Regions from separate parts of the Homo sapiens genome. Here region 1 is linked to region 2. Evidence: promoter capture Hi-C in 16 types of primary human blood cells and fetal thymus (Javierre and others, 2016). All regions are on one chromosome and are shown on one strand. Each heading gives the region's core, a stretch centred on a gene start or on the middle of the fragment in contact. The rest is flanking DNA. Distances are from core to core; before and after follow the strand shown. Region 1 overlaps LRIG1 (leucine rich repeats and immunoglobulin like domains 1). Region 2 holds the start of KBTBD8 (kelch repeat and BTB domain containing 8).

Region 1 (2,700 bases), core at 192-2,691, 510 kb after region 2:
AAAAATGAAATATTTAACACAGGGCCTAACACACAAGCAGAAGCTTGAGGAAGGGTAGCTATAATGTTATTATTATAACTGTCGCAATAATAGTGTACCTTTCTGCAGCAGGATATATCTGTGTTAACTGATCATCACCATCTTAACTCTATGAAAAATATTGTCTCTGTTGTATACATGAGGCCCAGAGTAGTTGAATGACTTGTTTAGAGTCTAGCACTTGCCAGTTAGAATTCAGACCTGCGTGTACATGTTTAGAAGAAAATACGGTAAGACTAGCACTGCCTTCTTTCTGGCCTCCCTTTGACGTCTCTGAATTCCTGGAGGCCGATTGGTCTTTGGTGGCTTGAAGCACCTAGTGTAGTTCTGGCTGTACAGCTGGTGCTCTATACATGGTGTCTTGAATGTGATCTTGAAGAGCGTGTTTCTTTGTTGGTAGGCGTGTGTGTCAGATCCATTTTTGGTTTGCCTGTTTGGTAAAGGGGGTGGTAACATGCACATATGTTTTGCCATCTGTTGTTTATTGTTTCTGTTAGGTTGTGGTTTGTGTTCCTGTTCCATGTTCCTTTGGTTTCTGGAGCAACTGCGAATATTATATGCTTGGGGATCAAAAAAAGTAAACTATTTATAAACAGTAAAGTATCCTTGGGTTTGGAAAGTGTTTTTCTCAAATGCGTGTATATTTGTTGGCTTTATGATCATCTCACTGATGAATCGTTAGATAATTTGCAGACTGAGACACATCTAAAAGATGGGCGAGTCATGGTCCAGCCTTGTGTAACCAGCTCACAGACAGCCTTGGTGATAAGGCCCTGGTGTTAACGCTGACCCGAGTGGTGTATTTTTAACTCAAGAACATATAAACAGTTTAGCCTGCTGATGGAGTTTATGCACCGCCTGAAATCTTTGGCATGCCTTGGATTTGTGGCTCTGTAAGATGTACGTAGTCCTGGGAGAGTGCTGTGGCCGCCAGTGACCCACTGCCCCCACCCTTCATTCAAAAGAAAAGGAATGTAGCAGCAAGATGGAAGGAGAAAGGTGGAATTTATCAATAATTTTGTATGATAATTTTTCCTTTTTTTTTTTTTTTTGAGAGGGTCTTAATCTGTCACCCAGGTTGGAGTACAGTGGTGTGATCTTGACTCACTGCAACCTTTGCCTCACAGGTTCAAGCAATTTTCCCACCTCAGCCTCCTGAGCAGCTGAGGCTACAGGTGTGCACCACCATGCCTGGCTAATTTTTGTATTTTTTGGGGGTAGAGACAGGGTTTCATCATGTTGCCTAGGCTGGTCTCGAACACCTGGGCTCAAGCAATCGCTGGCCTCGGCCTCCCAAAATGCTGGGATTACAGGTGTGAGCCACCATGCCTAGCCTGTAGTATAAATTTTATCTTAAATTTTTTTTGTCATTACTATTTCACTTTGTTATGCAGACTTTAGAGGGAGGAGAGAGCTTTTTACTCACATCTGTTTGCAACCCCTTGCCCCCAGCTGTAGGGGTCTTTGCAGAGTTGCAAATTGGAGCACATGAATCCCATTGTTTAAAGCTGTTACTGTCCACCTGCCCCTCATCGCGCTTCTTACCTGGCCCCACCTGTCCCAGCCACCACGTGGGGCTTTTTAAAAAGACTTTTTAAATACCACCATGTCCCATGTCCCTCACCCACCATTTCCTCTGTCTGGAGAATGGGTCTTCCCTCTTCGCCTTGCAGATTTCTGTTCATCTGTCTTAAACGTTTCTCCCCATAGAAACCATGGCTGACGTTCCCTTTAAGTTAGATTCCCATCGTGAGGATTCTGCAGTGCTATGTATAGAAGTTTTGTGTGAATGTTTGATTCGTTTCTGACTACCCCATTAGTCTGTAAGCTCCCTGAATGCAGTGACTGGCTTTGTTTCCAATCCACCATTGTATTCCCAGAATCTAGTGTGAAGCCTGTGACACATTAAATGCTCGTGACAGATACCAGTGTAGATAGAGATAGTGGCATTCATTCTGTAGAGTCCTGTATGTCCTGTGGAAATACCTCTGCCAGATAGAATAATTCAGACCTCCCAGGCTTCATCTGTGTATTTCCTGAATATACCTTGCTTGTTTAGTAGCTTCCTATACCCCTCACCACCCTCCACCAAAGTCTCTTAAGTGTTGAGAAACTTAGAAGAATGGAAAGAAAGAAGAAACAAATAGAACCGAAGTTGAAAAGATGACAGGCTGTTTACCTGCCACATTTAGAATTGGCGGTCTTTTTGGTCTCTCTGAATTTTGGAAAAGTCCCATATGCAAGAATTGTCACTGAAGTGGCTTTGTAGTTAAAGCAGTGCATGTGAACTGTCCCCACATGAGGTCCTCGGGCGCCTCGTCCCTGCTGGATTGCTGGTGGCTGTCCTTGGCAGGTGGGCCAGGCTCAGGCGCTCTCCTCTGTGTTGCGTTTGGCGAGGGAGCCCGCGGTGCCCTTCCCAGCTGTTGACATGGTCTCTCATCTGCTCTTTTGCTGGAGCCGCGTTTTGGAGCCTGCTTTTCCAGAGTTGACACTGCAGGGGAGGGTGGCTTCTTCCATAGACCGAGGCTGTCTAGACACCCTTCCCCTTGTGGTTATTCTGCTCAGTTTATGCTGAGCCCTCGCCAGGCAGCTGGTTTCGGTTGCTTGAGCTCTTACTTTGCTCAGGCCTCTGCTTTGACAAAAAGGATGACCAGGCCAAGG
Region 2 (2,700 bases), core at 107-2,606:
AATTCTAGATCAGCACTGTCCAATAAAATTGTCAATGATGAAAATGCTGTATTTCTGTGCTGCCCAATATGGCAGCCACTAGCTGCAGGTGACCAGCAAGCACTCAAAAAGTATTTAGTGTACCTGGGGAACTAAATGTTTTATTTTATTTAACTTATAATTTAAGTTTAAACAGCCACACATGGCTACTGGCTTCCATACTGACCAGCACAAGTCTAGATTTTCTGGTCATTTACCTCAAACACACACACACAGGCCCACTAACTTAAAAAGCAATCACCCGAAATCTAGAAGAATCCCTCAAGTCAAAAGAAGGTCTTAGTTAAGAGAGGACTTGTTTTCTAGTCTCAAGAAACAAAGTCATTGGTTTCATTTCATTATCGCATCTCAATATAAACATCAAGTGGACAATACTGAGGGGGAAAGGGAGCTTGGTGCAGATACCAACAGAAGTTCCTACCATCATCATACCTGAAGTAAGGGCTGATTGCAGCAAGAACGTTTCTATGACAGGAAAATGTTTTCCCGTGATCCACTTCCACTACAATGTCTGTCAACTGTCCTTCATCGTACATTGTTTTGAGTTGCTTAAGAATACTGCAAGCATGGAAGGGGTCCATGGCATCGCTGGCTGGGTCTGAAGATGGAATCCCATTCGGTGTTGGGGAAGACTTACTTAAATCTAGGAGGAGAAAAATCGTACAACTACAAGAAGTGCCGAGCCAGTTACGGCATCGCGGGATTTTTCTGTTTGTGTGTCTGCTTGCTAGGCTTTTTCCCCCTACAAGATATATACAAATGTCTGTGGATATACGCACGACCTCGTGGGACCGCGAGTTAAGGATCTGGGAGACAGAGGGCGGAGCGCGATCGGCGGAACAAGTTCAAAGGCCAGCCTGCTCCTGCGGAGCCCGGCGAGCCCGGCACCCGTGCTCGCGGAGGAAACGCGCTCGCAGCCCAGGAGAGGCGTCTGCGCGGACTCCGCCGAGAGCCGAGGGCAGAGCCTCACGAGGGAAGCTCGAACAACGGCGGCCGCCGGTGCCCCCTCAAGCCGCCTCCCGCTGCCTCCTGGGGCGCAGCGCCGGCGGGTACCCAGCCTCCCCATCCCGGTCCCGCCGGACCGCCCACCGCCCTCCGCACCATTCATCCTCCCTCTTCTCATTCCCCTCCACCGCTTCATCCTTCCCTCTAGCTCCGCACCGCTACGTCCTCATCCCACTGCCTGTGGCCGGCCCCGGCCCACCTTCCCCCTCACCTCCCTCCACGCCGCCCTGGCCACCACACGACCCACCTGCCGACGCGGCCATTTCTCGATGGGGCCCCGACTCCAGCTATTTAAAAAGGAAATGTCATTTCGCTTCTCTAGCTCCCGGGTTCCGGCTCTTCTAAGCTTCCCCTGGCCAATGGGGTGTCCTGTGCATCTGGCTCCACCCCTAGCCTCCGAATTCCTGGCGCTGATTGGCCACGACGCGAGCACATGCGTGTCGGGAAATGTAGTTTGATTGCCCCGGCTCCCGCGTGGTCCGGGTCGGGCGGAGGCCCAAGCCGGGAATTCCTATTGGCTGATTCGGATGGAGGTGGAGAGCAGGGAGCTGGCCAGCCTGTGGCCGTCGAGCGCGCAGTGCCTGCCGGGAGAGGTAGTCTTCTGGCGGAGGAGAACTGTCATTCTGAGGGGCTGGGGTAGGGAAAGCTCTTCAAGTGCGAATTTCCCCATTTTAGGCCTCTCTCCTGGCCCCCGGCACATTTTTTTACCTTTTTCTTCTTCCGTAAACTTCCTGCCAGTGACTAGCTTCCGGTATGAAATCAAGCTCTGCGTGAGAGCTGTAAAACCAGAAAAATGTGGAAATGGACAGGAGGGCTGTTGTCCAAAAATGCAAAGGAAATCTGACGTCCCACCCTGAAGAAAAATATCACAAGGCCCAAAAGCAAGGCGTCTCTGATGAGTCACCTATGACACCCAATTGAAATAGCATCGCCTTGGCCGGGTGCTCTGGTTTCCACAGATTAACTTGGTCTGGTTACAGCGGCTGCTTAGGATCTTCAACTCCCACTGGTGCCTTGCTTTTCTAGCACACCCAGAGAACACCTGTTCCTCACGTGAACATTACAAGGGGATCCAAGATGCTTTACTTTTTGCTCTTGGGAAATGGAGGGGATACAATACTAAGTATTCCGGAATTTCCTTTGAAAAAATACCGGAATGCCCTGAGCCCGGAGCCAGGGATGATTACTGAAGCCCTGGCTCTTTAGTCACTATATGTGAGAACTGACATAAGACCTTTCAACCCCTGAGCGCTTAGATCCTTCATCTGTAACGTGAAGTAATAGTAATCCGTACTCCATGGATTTCATAGGCTGCAACCTTTTGGAAAGAAAATCAAAATTTTACTGTTGACGAATTTTTATTTACTCATCTTGTGTTTCTAACATCTAACGGGGTGCCTGGCACATTATAGATGTTTCATATTTTAAAAATAAATGTAAGGTGCAAATGAGCTAACATTGGGAATGCTATTTCTAGATGTTAAAATGTAAGGAAGTATCAGCGAATGGGAAGAATTTCTAGTAGACATATAGTTAGCCCGTGTGCATAACTTTTCTAGCACTGAAAAGATCAAACCGTTGAACTTCTTGATAAAGAAAGGATCTTGGAATTTAAATTGTGATTGAGAAAGAGAAATAATTATGAAAAACAATTCA

The links. The method cuts DNA at HindIII sites, captures the fragments that hold promoters and counts their contacts. A CHiCAGO score of 5 or more calls a contact.
Region 1: a fragment that was not itself captured here is called in contact with the fragment with the promoter of KBTBD8 in region 2 in 1 of 17 cell types (fetal thymus); the score reaches 8.0 in fetal thymus.

Annotation. Positions count from the first base shown.
Region 1 is chr3:66,483,547-66,486,246 of GRCh38, reverse strand. All of the region lies in intron 1 of LRIG1 (leucine rich repeats and immunoglobulin like domains 1), which reads left to right. Among named protein-coding and RNA genes, the nearest start is that of LRIG1, 16 kb to the left of the region's middle. The HindIII fragment of the contact is 2,792 bases long and covers 46-2,700 here.
Region 2 is chr3:66,996,963-66,999,662 of GRCh38, reverse strand. It overlaps KBTBD8 (kelch repeat and BTB domain containing 8), which reads right to left and starts at 1,356. Exons shown (of 4, transcript NM_032505.3): 1 at 1,292-1,356; 2 at 472-682. The coding sequence starts at 1,307. RefSeq lists a silencer at 939-1,258 and an enhancer at 1,599-1,698. The HindIII fragment of the contact is 2,180 bases long and covers 1-1,392 here.